Linked DNA regions of Homo sapiens: region 2 is linked to region 1. The links are contacts of gene promoters, found by promoter capture Hi-C in human tissues and cell types (Jung and others, 2019). All regions are on one chromosome and are shown on one strand. Each heading gives the region's core, a stretch centred on a gene start or on the middle of the fragment in contact. The rest is flanking DNA. Distances are from core to core; before and after follow the strand shown.

Region 1 (6,681 bases), core at 2,857-5,356:
ATGATATACTTTACTGAAATAACTTATATAGCAATATGAATTTTTTTTTTTTTGAGGCAGAGTTTCGCTCTTGTTGCCCAGGCTAGAGTGCAATGGCGCGATCTCGGCTCACTGCAACCTCCGCCTCCTGGGTTCAAACAATTCTCCTGTCTCAGCCTCCAGAATAGCGGGGATTACAGGCGCACGTCACCATGCCAGGCTAATTTTTGTATTTTTAGTAGAGATGGGGATTCACCATGTTGGCCAGGCTGGTCTCGAACTCCTGACCTCAAGTGATCTGCCTGCCTTGGCCTCCCAAAGTGCTGGGACTACAGGCATGAGCCACCGTGCCCGGCAAATTTGAGGTGGAGGTTGCTGTGAGCCGAGATCGCATCACTGCACTCTAGCCTAGGTGACAGAGCAAGACTGTCTCCCACTTCGGCCTCCCAAGTAGCTGGGACTACAAGCATGTGCCACCAGGCCTGGTTAATTTTTTTTTCTTTTTTTTTTTTTTGAGACGGAGTCTCACTCCGTCACCCAGGCTGGAGTGCAGTGGCGCGATCTCAGCTCACTGCAAGCTCCGTCTCCCGGGTACACGCCATTCTCCTGCCTCAGCCTCCCGAGTAGCTGGGACTACAGGTGCCTGCCAGCACGCCCGGCTAATTTTTTGCTTTTTTAGTAGAGACAGGGTTTCACCTTGTTAGCCAGAATGGTCTCGATCTCCTGACCTCATGATCCGCCTGCCTTGGCCTCCCAAAGTGCTGGGATTACAGGTGTGAGCCACCGCGCCCAGCCAGGCCTGGTTAATTTTCTTTGGTATTTTTTTGTAGAGACGGAGGTCTCACTATGTTGCCCAGGCTGGTCTCGAACTCCTGAGCTCAAGTGATCCACCCGCCTTGGCCTTCCAAAGTGCTAGGATTACAGGCATGAGCCACAGTGCCCAGCCTACAGTGCAACTTTAATAATAACAATATGAACACAAAAATTCTAAGATCTAAAATTTAAGCTTTCAGTGGTCCTTCTATAACAGTGAAAGTTTGGTTCCTAAAAAGCCCTGAGGAATTTATGGGAAAACAAGAGAGACAACATTTAGTAGTGAACCTGTGCATTCTAAATAAAGACAATCACATGTTATAGGCCTTCAATTAGTAAGAATGAATATTGGACTATGAATTTTTATTCACTGTCACTTGTTTGCTAGATGCTTTGAGAATCTTCCTTGCCTATATTTTTCTGAGATGTTGGTTTTTCTTTGTCAAAGATAACAATGCTCATTCCCTCCCCATTAAAAACTACATATATATATATATATATATGATTAGATGATTACTACATGTGCTTTGAAATATTCAAATATTTTAGACAGTAAAAGTCCCTTGTAATTCACCCCTTTGCAGATGATTGGTTAACAGGTTAGTACACATCTACCTAAATTTAAAATCCCATATTTAACATGTATACTTATTAGAAAGTACACATTCTAATATTTTTCTGTTGTATTTGGTACTGTTTCCAGATGCTCCTGCCTTTTTGCTTTCATAATTTTGAAGGACCTCAGCTCCCTGCCTCCTAGATTTTTGCTACTGTGGTCTCAGAGCTGTGTAATTTGGATGACTGAGACGGAAAAACCTCTGGAAAACCTTTATTTATGTTGAATAAGTATTCCTTGAATCCTTCCTCAGCATCCTGGGTTATATTTGATTTGCTCTGTTCATGATAACTTCATGCCAAGGAGACTGCTATCAGCTCTCTTAAAACAGATCCCAACTCCCTGCTCATAGTGGCCAAAGGAATGGAGATTTCAGGCTGAGTTTACTTACCTGCATCATCATCTATCCAGAAGCATCCCTGCACAAACCTCTGTTTCTACCCTTCCATTCACTCGGCTCACTTTTCTGCTCTTAGTACCCTTTGTTTCTTGTGAACTCTCCAGCAGGAGTGACTTGCAATTTGTATCCACTGACACTTAAGTTCTCAGAAGTGCTGGAGAAGCGTATGGAAGTAAATTATCCTGATGTATAATTTTGTACATGTGAAACTCACCGTGGAAGTGCCTATTCTAATTTCAGTACGGAACACAGCTAAATATTTGGATCAATAATCCAGTTTTGAAAGCACACTTTATTTAAAGTACAATGTGCTGAAGAAAATGAAAAAAGAAAGGGTGCTTTCAAATTTGTACTGAGTAAACTTTCACTAGATCACATCATATGTTTATCACTAGTCACATATATGTTGTATTTCTATGTGTAATCGTCAGGCACTTTTAATTTCTAGTTTGCATTTACCATGCCAGCCTCCTCCTCAATCCCAAATTTCCTTTGGTTATAAATTTAGTAAATTTGAAAGAGCCAGCAGGGATTAAACCCTGAAGGTATTCAAATGACTATCTGACGTTATTCCTCATTTCAGCCATTTCAAAAAATTATGCTTTCATTTAGAATAGGCTCTGGGAATCAAAGTGTGTGTATTTTGCCCAAGTAGAAGACACAGTTTAAAGTTAACATCCTAGCTACTAGAAGGGAAAGCAAACATCGCTGGAAAAGGAGCCTATTTTTTTTTACCTTACACTAAAACTACACTGCGAAGATCAAAAGAAATCAACATGAGAGTGTGCCTCTTAACGCTAGGCCCAAAGTAGATGCTTATTAAATGATAGTTTACCCCAATCCTTCACAAATGGTTGATAGGTCTTACTATTTCCCCCCATTCAAATCTAGAATTTTTTCACTCTCATAAACTAATCGATAGTGAATGGAAAGCACAGAATAGATCATCGTCCAAGTGTTAGGTATTAGCCTGAGAAATCCAGAATCCCATATTTGTAACTGTCCTTCTTGAGAAAGTGCATTTTTCAGGCGGATTCTAGCCCCATTTTTCTTTTTACCATTTTTACATATTATGAGAGGTGGCTTAGAAGTACTTCGATTTTTGCCTCTTCATCACAACACACTGAACGTTAAAATCAAGTGGTTGGGTTTTTATTGGCTTATTTTGTCTCTAACCGTTTTATTTCTCGAGCTGTCATCGTTCTTTTCGTCTTACATCCTTATGAACCTTTTCTGGATTAAAAAAAATGACGTTATAATAAGGAAACTAACTGGCGTTGGATTCGAACGAAGTTGACTCCATTCCTTTTCCTCCCCGTAGTGTGGGCGCTACGAGGAAAGACCTCGGCGAGAACCAGCGAAGCCCGGGCTGCCCTCGCCGTGCGGGCGCACATTTGCTCCTCGCGCCGGGCTGCGCCGGGCGACCGCGGCCGCCTCGGCGTGTGTCCGCGGCTCCCTCCCGCCCTCGCCCGCAGTTCCCCGATCCCGATCCCGGATCTCTGGGTCCACAGCTTGGCTACCTCCCGAGCCGGAGCCGGAGCCGGAGCCGGAGTCGCGGCTGGGCCCGGCCGCCGCGTCACAGGGGGAGGGAACCCGGGGGGGAGGGGGAGGGGCGGTGAGGTCAGCGGCGGCGGCGCGTCCGCGGGCGGCGGGAGCGGCGCATGCGCGGAGCGAGGCCCGTGAGTGGCAGCGGCGGCGCGCGGGGGGCGGGCGAGGGGCCGAGTGTGGGGGAGCGGGCGGGGGCCGTCGAGGCGGCGGTGTGTGGGCGCGACGGCTGCGAGTTGGAGAGGTCTGTGGTGCGGGTCGCCCCGGGGGATCCCCGGCGCGGGCCTCGCGCGACGGCCACGGTCGCGCGGCGTGTGTGTGGGGTCCAAGCACACCCGCAAAACTTCCTCCTCCCCTGCTCCGGGAGAGCGAGCGAGCGTGTGTGAGAGAGCGAGTGTGAGGAGCGAGCCGCGGCCCGGCGCCCAGCGCCGCCACTGGAGCAGCTGTCAAAACTTCGCCGCCGCCGCCGCCCGGGCCTGACGGGCCTGACGCGCGGGGGAGGGGCGGCCGGCCGGGGGCGCGACCCCCTCGCCGCCCCCGCCGGGCCCCGCGGCCGGCCCTCCCCGCGCCGGGCCCCTTTCTCCTCCTGCCGCGGGCGGCTCGGGGGAGGGGCCGCGGGCGGAGACCCCGGGGGCCGGCGCCCCTCACGCCGCCCGCCCGCCCGGCTGCCCCGCCCGCCCGCACCCGCCGGCCCCGCCCGCCCCGCACCGCCCGCCCCGCCCGCCGCCCCCCGCCCGGCCCCTGCGCGCGGAGGTGCGCGCGCCCGCGCCGATGTGTGTGAGTGCGTGTCCTGCTCGCTCCATGTTGCCGCCTCTCCCGGTACCTGCTGCTGCTCCCGGGGCTGCGGGAAATGCGAGAGGCTGAGCCGGGGAGGAGGAACCCGAGCAGCAGCGGCGGCGGCGGCGGCCGCGGCGGCGGGAGCCCCCCAGGAGGAGGACCGGGATCCATGTGTCTTTCCTGGTGACTAGGATGTCGTCGGAGGAGGACAAGAGCGTGGAGCAGCCGCAGCCGCCGCCACCACCCCCCGAGGAGCCTGGAGCCCCGGCCCCGAGCCCCGCAGCCGCAGACAAAAGACCTCGGGGCCGGCCTCGCAAAGATGGCGCTTCCCCTTTCCAGAGAGCCAGAAAGAAGTAAGTTGAGTGCGAGGGAGCCAGGCCGGGAGCCAGCGGCGGCGCCGGGCCGGAGCTGTCACCGGGCGCCCGCCCCGCGGCCTCCGCGCCCCGGCGCCCCCCGGCGGGGTGGGGGCGGGGCGGGCCCGCGGGCGGTGGCGGCTCCCGGCCCCGGCCCCGCGCCCCTCGGTAGCCGCCCGCGCCCGGCCTCCCCCGCTCCGCGCCGCCCGCCCGGGCTCCCGCCGGCGCCCGGCTCCGCACACTTTACTTTTCAGTCGGGCCTTTTCACTGGGTCTTCTCCGCGACTCTTCTTTTGGAGAAATTTCTCGTAGCCGCGTCTTGGCCTAGCTGGATCATTGAGAAAACAAGCCCGGAGCGCGCCCAGGTAGTCCCCGGACGGACTCCGGGCGAACCGCCGAGCCGTCGGCGCTCGGGAAACTCTCGGAGCTGTCAAAACGCCCGGGCCAGGTGGTCTCGGGGCGCGGGCTGGGGGCGAGAAGAAAGCGGCCGGGCGAGTGCAGCTTTTGTTTGTCAGCGACTTGCTCCTGGAACTTTTCCTGGTCCCAAACCTGTGTTTTCTTCTTTTGATGATATATTAGGAAGCCATTTGACTTCTTCCTCCCCCCTCCCCCAACACCCAGCACCGCACTCCCGGGCTCCGAAAGCACAAGTCCTGTGGGATCCCCCAGCTTCGGGGAACGGCCTGCCTAAGTTTTGGAGACGTAGCCAGCGTCCCCTCGTAAGGCAGAATACCAAGAGCACTTATTCGGAGAGAGTGCAGATGTAAATGTCGCTTCCCTCGTAAGTCTTAGCTGTAAGGGGCTTGGGAATAGGGTCGCCTGCCTTTGAGCGTACAGTAGGGCTGGACCCCAGCTTATTAGAGGACCAGAAATGTCTTCTTACAGAACGGTTATTTGACGGCTTTGCTTGTAAATTAAGACACCGTTTTAGTGCCAGCGAACTGCTCGGCTTCTGTGGCTCTCGCGTGTGCCGTGGAAGAACTGTGAATGTCTCTCGAAGTTGTAGAATGGCGTGTGTGCTTACTCATTTCGTGAGATGATATTCTCATTGAACTGTCGGGAGTGGAAGGGTGCGCTGGGACGTGAAGGAAGCCAGCACGTTTATGGATAGGCTGTTTCTTTGGTTCGGGTGCATTCACTTAGTAATAGTATTGTTGTTTGGTGATTTGTAGTAAAAATAGTAGCGTGAACTGAGGCATAGCAGAGCTGGGTTGTGGGAACCCATTGAGCTCTTGACTTGAATGTGCTCTTTTCTTGCCCCGCTGTCCTTTTACTATGAAAATGATTCAGGGCCTTCAACTTGCCTCCATATTTTATTGCCAGCTGTTACCTAGCTATGATAATCGTGAGGGAAGCAAGTACAGGATGTGTGTACATTATTACATTAGCTTGTTCGTGATACAAAGTTAGGACTTATTTATTATGCCACTTGCGTTGTAATACAGTGGCAAGTATAAAATGCCCTTATTCTGTATTAACTGAAATTTGTAGAAGGAAGTGGAGGTTTAAGTAATTTTTAGACATGTAAGCCACTTTTTTTTGCATCCTTTAAAGCAACTCAGGACAAGCCATATTGGGGTTTTACCTTGATTGCCTCCCATTTCACTATTTGCAAAGCATTTCTTCATCTCTTACTGAACATTAATTTGCAAGTATTGTTTTAAATTTGCATTTGAATTCTTACTCCAGAAAGATTAGATCTATGTTGTCACACCCCACACCCCATACTCCTGTAAGGGCGTGCTTGTGCACGCGCACACGCGCACACTCACACGCACGCGCACACTCGCACACACCCTACTTTTGAAATGAGCTCATTTGTATTAGTGCAGCTCCTGAGTGCACTGGACGATTAGGGTATTGCCACTTTATTATTTTAATTCTGAATCTCATGAAGAAATAGGCAGCCTTTGGAGAAGATAAAAAATTTCTGCTGAATAACAGTATAATCTAACTATGAAAAATCAAAACTTTTGGAAATATTTAGAACAAATGTAAGTCTGTAGAGAGCTTTTTCTTTTAGATTTGAAAACTAGTACTGCTTTCTTTATAGGAAATTAAAGTCTACTGGTAAATTTGACGGGTCTAAACTTTTTAGAGCGTTTTTTTTGAAATTGTGTCTTTTGAAGGGAATGGAATCTCCAGTTGTTTTTAGCAACATGTAAATGGAAACTAACATATGAATTGGAAAGCAAAGAG
Region 2 (6,681 bases), core at 2,593-5,092, 230 kb after region 1:
ACCAGTTAGCCGGTTAATATACAGACAGTCATCCATCACTTAAGTTCAGAGAAATACATCATTAGGCATTTTCATCGTTGCGTGAACATCATAGAGTGCACTTCCACAAACCTAGATGGTATAGCTTACTACACATTTAGGCTGTATGGTACGCTAAATTCATTTAAAAAAATAAAGTAATTGTGCTACGGTGTTATAACTACGGTGATGTCTGTATGTGGTGGGAATTTTTCAGCTCCATTATAATCTTATGGGACCACTGCCTTGACATGCAGCCCTTTGTTGACCAACATCATTATGCAGTGCATGACTGTTATGTGATGTATGAGGCACTAATATTTGTCAAATAGATAAGCCAGCGTAATTTAGTGTTTGATATTTACACTGATACTGTTGAGAAGAGGAAGTGCACACAGGTCTTTTTGTATTCTGTTTGATAAGTGATAAGAGTGGCTTTGCCTTTTTTTTTTTTTTTTTTGGTCGTTTTTAACTTCTATTTTACCTAAAAATCAGGTTATTGATTTAGATTAGCACAGATTTAATTTTGGAAAATGACTTACTATTCAAGATAAAGCAGTTTTATCCTGTGTACTGTGGAAATGTAGGGAGAAATTACTTATCAGTTTACCTAATTTCTTTTTTGGATAGGTATTGGTGGATTTATGGTGCGGCAAAGAAGTCGAACTGGGCAAGGGAAAACCAAAAGATCTGTGATCAGAAAAGATTCCTCAGGCTCTATTTCCGAGCAGTTACCTTGCAGAGATGATGGTATAGTACTGACTTAAAAAAAAATTTTTTTTTTAATGTAACCCTTTGGTCTTGATATTTCTATTGGAAAAAACTATCCTAAATAATGTTACAGTCAATAAGAGCCTTATTGCCTCTTATTGTTACTCAATAAGAGTCTTATTGCCTTTTATTGATGAAAGGATTTGAGTGCGTATAGAGTTCATATCTGTAATACAGTAATCAGGTTTTATAAGGAAATGGTTTAAATCCAATAGACTTTATTCTTTTGAGATTTTTTGACAAGCTCTTTTTTCCTGTATCAAATTATTAAATATATTTTCTATATTTAAATATAAATGGTTTAGGGACTGAATAACTTAGTTACATAAGGTACTTTCTGGTCATCTCCAAAGCCTTTCTTTGACTGCCTTAGCTACTTATCATATAATTTGAAATTCTCAAGTGACAGTGCACCTCAGTTTTTATCTATTTATGTATCTGTCTGTCTATCTATCTATCTATCTATCTATCTATCTATCTATCTATCTATCTAGGGGTCTCACTATGTCACCCAGGTTGGCATGCAGTGGCACAATCATGGGTCACTGCAGCCTTGCACTCCTGAGCTCAGGTAGTTCTCCTGTCCTCAACCTCTGATGTAGCTGGAGACCACAGGCACACACCACCATGCCTAGCTAATTTTTTGGCTTTTTGCAAAGACAGGGTCTCACTTTGTTGCCCAGGCTGGCCTGCAACTCCTGTGCTCAAGCGATCCTCCTGCCTCAGCCTCCCAAAGTGCTGGGATTACAAATGTGAGCCCAGCTGATATCTAAAAAAAATTTTGTTTTTGAGACAGTCTTCCTCTGTTACCCAGGCTGGAGTGCTGTGGTGCCGTCTCAGCTCACTGCAACCTTCACCTCCCGAGTCCAAGCAATTCTCGTGCGTCAGCGTCCCAAGTGGCTGGGATTACAGGCGTGAACCACTGCATCCAGCCAGGAGTTGTTTTTTTTTTTTGCTATTGGTGGTGAGCAGGAGGTGGCAAGTGATGGTTTGTGTGAAGGTGTATTTCTTATTAAACTGACCCTGAGCTTTATGCAAGTCACCTCTGGCCTGTCTGCCTTGGAGAGAGGCCTTAAGCTTTGTCTTCTATTCCCTATTCCTCGCAATGCTCTGAAAATTGGAGTTTGAGGTCATTGGATTTCAGCAAATTTCGGAGAGCTTTTACTTTTTTGCTTACTTCTGTGGTTCCTTATTTATCTTAATTTTTGTTTTTCATGGATTCCTTATGTTCTGGCTAGGTTACTGGTGCCTTTAAAAAGATTGTTGTAAAAAATGTTTGTCTATTTCTAGTTTTCAGAAGAGTCAATTCACTTACGTAGTCTGGTGGTAGAGTGCCCATATTGATTTTCAGAAGGGATGTGCCATTTGCCCTGCCATTATGAAGCATCTGAGAATATCATTTGATTGTTTATTTGTCAAATTTAAGCTGTGTTCTTGTTTCTTTGCTAGTTTCATAGTCCCCAAATTTATTTCCATTTCTGATTTCAAGAATAAGTGTTCATTGCATATTTATTAGCATATTCATCGTCATGTTTTCACAATGTGTATATCCTACAAATAATTTATAATAAATTTCTGAACTTGGAATTGCTGTATTAAAGGACACACTTTTTCTTTAAGGTTTTTGTTGAGTATTCTCAATACACCCTACAAAAAAGTTACACCCACAGAATTTCTCTTAATAGTTTATAAGTTGCCATTTCGTCATACTCATGAGCTTTGGGTATTTATTATTATTATTATTATTATTTTACTCTTTAACAAAATATGTTTAAATAAATACGTTTTTGCTTTGTAATCGATTATTAAGAAAATAGGAAAAATGCTAATACTAAGTAGACATGAAATCAAAATTTTATGGCACTTAAAAGTAACAAACTTGATTTGAGATTTTTTTGTTCAAAAAGCTTGTTTGTTTATATGAAACTGTGTGTATGTTGGTAAGGTATAAAATTACCTTCAGTGGGTTTGTCTAGAAATTTTAAATGTCACATATTTATAAATGTGACTGTTGTTTCAGGCTGGAGTGAGCAGTTACCAGATACTTTAGTTGATGAATCTGTTTCTGTTACTGAAAGCACTGAAAAAATAAAGAAGAGATACCGAAAAAGGAAAAATAAGCTTGAAGAAACTTTCCCTGCCTATTTACAAGTAATATTTTGCTTTACATTATTTTACATGGTTTGTTAATTGAGGAAATAAAATGTATTGAGTTTTAAAACATAGGTTTGTTGTTTTTGTTAATGTTTTACTTGTTTTGTTGTCATTTAGTCATCATAAATGCCATTTTTACCTTTCAGGGGTCCATAAAAATTAAATTTACTTTTTTTGTGTGCTTTGATACTTGTCATAAATTGCTTTTTTAATACCAGTTGTTCACTTCTAAGCATTCTATAAGATGTAACAAGGACACTTTGGGATAGGAAAAACTCAATCTTCCAAGTCATTGATAGCTATGTATACCCCACACCCAAGTTCTGTTGAAATTTCCTTTGCCAATACAAGTTACATTAATTATATTCATTGATTAAAGATAGGCTTTTCAGCCAAAGTTATAGCTTTAATAATCGTTACCACTTTTAGAGGCCTGGAGAACCAAAGATTTAAGCAGTATTCTTTTTGTTTTCCAAAATACACATCAGAAAAATACCTTTCAGTACGAATAAATTATGTTTGATAGATGTAGACTACAAAAAAAATTTTTTTCTAGTTCATCTTGTAAACATTAAGTCAGAGTTTAAGGCCATGTGATACGGAAACAGCTCAATATTAGAAATTGTACTGAGATTAAATATCTGGCTCTGCATCTAACTAATTGTAAATTCCTAAGCGTGTTATTCATCCTTCCTGGCCTCTATTTCTTCATGTGTTAAAATTGAACTGGAACAGACTATCATTGAGAGGCCATCCTCATTTCATTGTAGACAACTATTCATCTGATCTGTTCCTCCTAAGAAACTATGGCTTACACAGATAACCCTTCATTGCCTGAGTTGCATTTATTTTTTACATCAATTTTCCAGTTAGGTATTACTAGTTTAATTGGTTTTAAAATACATTGCCTTTCAACTAGCATACAACTTCCTCAATTTTCTTTTTTGTAGCTACTAACATCTTAATGGCAGTATTCATGTTAGAGCTCAGCCTATAAAGTCAGGATTTAAACACCATTCCACTACCAGTTAGCTGTGTGATTTTGTTCTGTTTAACATCTCTTGTGTCTCGGTTTCCTCATTTGTGACATAGTGGTGCCTCTCAGAAATGCTCAGAAGTTCAGTGAGAGTATGTATGTAAAGTGCCTAGCCTGTGCCTTACTTTTTGTATATCCTTCATACATGTTTTTCCCCTCAATCTCTTATATCCTAGGTTTGCACCTTTGTTTTTTTTTAAACGATCATTTAATTGGTCAGGAAAAAAAATCCATTTATAGGTTGGCTTACCTTTTTTTTTTTTTTTTTTTTTTTTTTCATCTTTGTTGTTGTTTTCTCCTGGGATTCCCTTTACCTCCCTTCTTAATAGTCCTTTCTAGGAATATTGTGATGGCAACCTACTTTTCCTCCTATTGATCCTTCTGTAAAGTGTAATATAAATTTAAGAAGCTTTCTTTAGGTGTTTCTGCAAGTATGAAAACTAGCCATTTAATACTTTGGCAAAAGAGTCTTTAAAATTATTAGGTCTAATTTCCCAATTACTGCTGTGATCTTAGTCTCCTGGGCCGTCTTGTTCCCCTGTTGCACATCAGTAACTTTCAGCGTGTGTGTGTGTGTGTGTGTGTGTGTGTGTGTGTGTGTCTGTGTCTGTATGTGTGACATGAGGGAGGCCTTTTTAATGGTAGTTTTCTTGGACTTTTAGAGACGATATGGATGGAGCCCCCTCTTTATGTTATCTACAGGGAATGTAAAACACACTAAATTAATAAGGGTGACACAGTTTTTGATAAACACCAGTAAAGTCATGAGTCATTAGACAGAATTCTTGCTGATGATGGTGTAAGATTTCTCAGATTTATACTGAAGGCATTAAATAAATGACCTCTAAACTTCTAAAACGCTTTCTGCTGTTCATCATTTTTTCTAATGATAAAAGCATTGCTTATTATAAGAAATGAATCCTCTTCTACCTGGTATTCTAGTTTTGTGAATTTTTAGATTTTTCATAGTGAGATGACTTTTTCATTTAAAATGTGAACATTTCAAATCAGATATATCATTGCCTCCACCAGACTTCACACACTCCCAATCTCTTTTCTCAAAGGGTAGTATTGTTAATAATTTGGCATTTGTCCTTCAGAAACTTTTTTATAATTTATTTTTGCAAACTTATAATAGTCTTGATTTGAACTTTCTAATTTTTTTTTGAGACAGCCTCACTCTGTCACTGAGGCTGGAATGCAGTGATGTGATCTCAGCTCACTGCAACCTCTGCCTTCTGGGTTCAAGTGATTCTCGTGCCTCAGCCTTCCAGGTAGCTGGGATTACAGGCATGTTGGCGCATGCCTGGCTAATTTTTGTGTTTTGTGTAGAGTCAAGAGTTTTGCCATGTTGCCCAGGCTGGTCTCTAACTCCTGGGCCTAAGTGAACCACCTACCTCGGCCTCCCAAAATGCTGGGATTACAGGCGTGAGCTACTGCGCCCGACCTGTATTTTATAATTTACTGTATGTGTAATTCAACTTACTTTCTTTTAGTAATGTATTTTAGGGCTTTTTCTTTGATAACATAGAACTATATACTTTTAAAAAATTGTTGTATTTTGTAATATAAGTGTCTATAATTTGGATAGTTCTATGCCTGTTGATAGACATTAAGGCCATTTTTACTTCTTGACATTACAAAATATGCTACAGTGAACTTTTTTGTGCATGTTTGGCAAGAATGTGTTAAATGTTGTATTGCAAAATTGTCCTGTATGGAGGATCCTTTTTCCAGATAGACTACATCATAGGATATAGACTAAAGCAGAGTTCCTGGGTTGAAGCAGGGTAAAGGGGTGGAACTGTGCTTCCCTTTTGTCTTTGGTATTGATTTTTGAGAAATTTTGGAGAGATCTTGGAGTTGCAAGGAACCCAGCTTGAAAGTATATTGAAATGGAAAAATGTTAATATGCCTAAATAAATAGAAAACCACAAGCCTTTAGTAGCTGTAAATATTGCACACATAGTATGGCTAAACTGACTATAAAACCGTCTTTCAGATTGATGATGTAAGTAGTCTTATAGTGTAAGTGTGGTTATATGAATCAATAGATTACAAATCTACCTGAAGTAAATATTAAAGCCGTAGATCAAAGTCTTATGCTGTCCTCTGCAAGTAATCTATAAAAATTAATAATACTCATGAAGCTATTCTGCAGTTTCTAGAAACCTTTGGTATAATTGTGTGGTTTTATTTCCATAATTTTGTCTCTAGTAAAGCTACCAAAAAATCTTATTTTTAAAATAAGGAGAATCTATATAAAATAATTGACAGGATATTTCTATTTTTTAATACTTCTGTATTCAGTTTCTATATTGTTAAATATAAACCTTTTCTGTTATTTCTGCTTCCTTGTCAAAAACCATGACAGAATAATCTATTGTCTTTTTAGAATTTTCTAACCATTTTTGTATGTGCTTATCTTCATCTAGGAAGCTTTCTTTGGAAAAGATCTTCTAGATACAAGTAGACAAAGCAAGATAAGTTTAGATAATCTGTCAGAAGATGGAGCTCAGCTTTTATATAAAACAAACATGAACACAGGTTTCTTGGATCCTTCCTTAGATCCACTACTTAGTTCATCCTCGGCTCCAACAAAATCTGGAACTCACGGTATGTAGAATTATTCACAGATATTTTCTTTATATCATATAACATACATCTTCCTTTCAGTTAAATCTTTTTGAAATGTTTTTGTT

What was found. The method cuts DNA at HindIII sites, captures the fragments that hold promoters and counts their contacts. A contact is called where the count stands out against the background at its distance.
Region 2: a fragment that was not itself captured here is called in contact with the fragment with the promoter of KMT2C in region 1 in 1 of the 25 tissues and cell types used here (aorta).

The regions. Positions count from the first base shown.
Region 1 is chr7:152,433,428-152,440,108 of GRCh38, reverse strand. It overlaps KMT2C (lysine methyltransferase 2C), which reads left to right and starts at 4,106. Exons shown (of 59, transcript NM_170606.3): 1 at 4,106-4,483. The coding sequence starts at 4,323. It also overlaps the pseudogene FABP5P3. RefSeq lists silencers at 3,090-3,429, 3,470-3,759, 3,850-3,899, 4,280-4,339 and enhancers at 4,820-5,049, 5,090-5,139, 5,610-5,679, 5,990-6,039. The HindIII fragment of the contact is 14,314 bases long and covers 1-6,681 here.
Region 2 is chr7:152,199,193-152,205,873 of GRCh38, reverse strand. KMT2C (lysine methyltransferase 2C) reads left to right here. Exons shown (of 59, transcript NM_170606.3): 25 at 649-768; 26 at 2,810-2,940; 27 at 6,415-6,595. Among named protein-coding and RNA genes, the nearest start is that of GALNT11, 180 kb to the right of the region's middle. The HindIII fragment of the contact is 3,122 bases long and covers 2,282-5,403 here.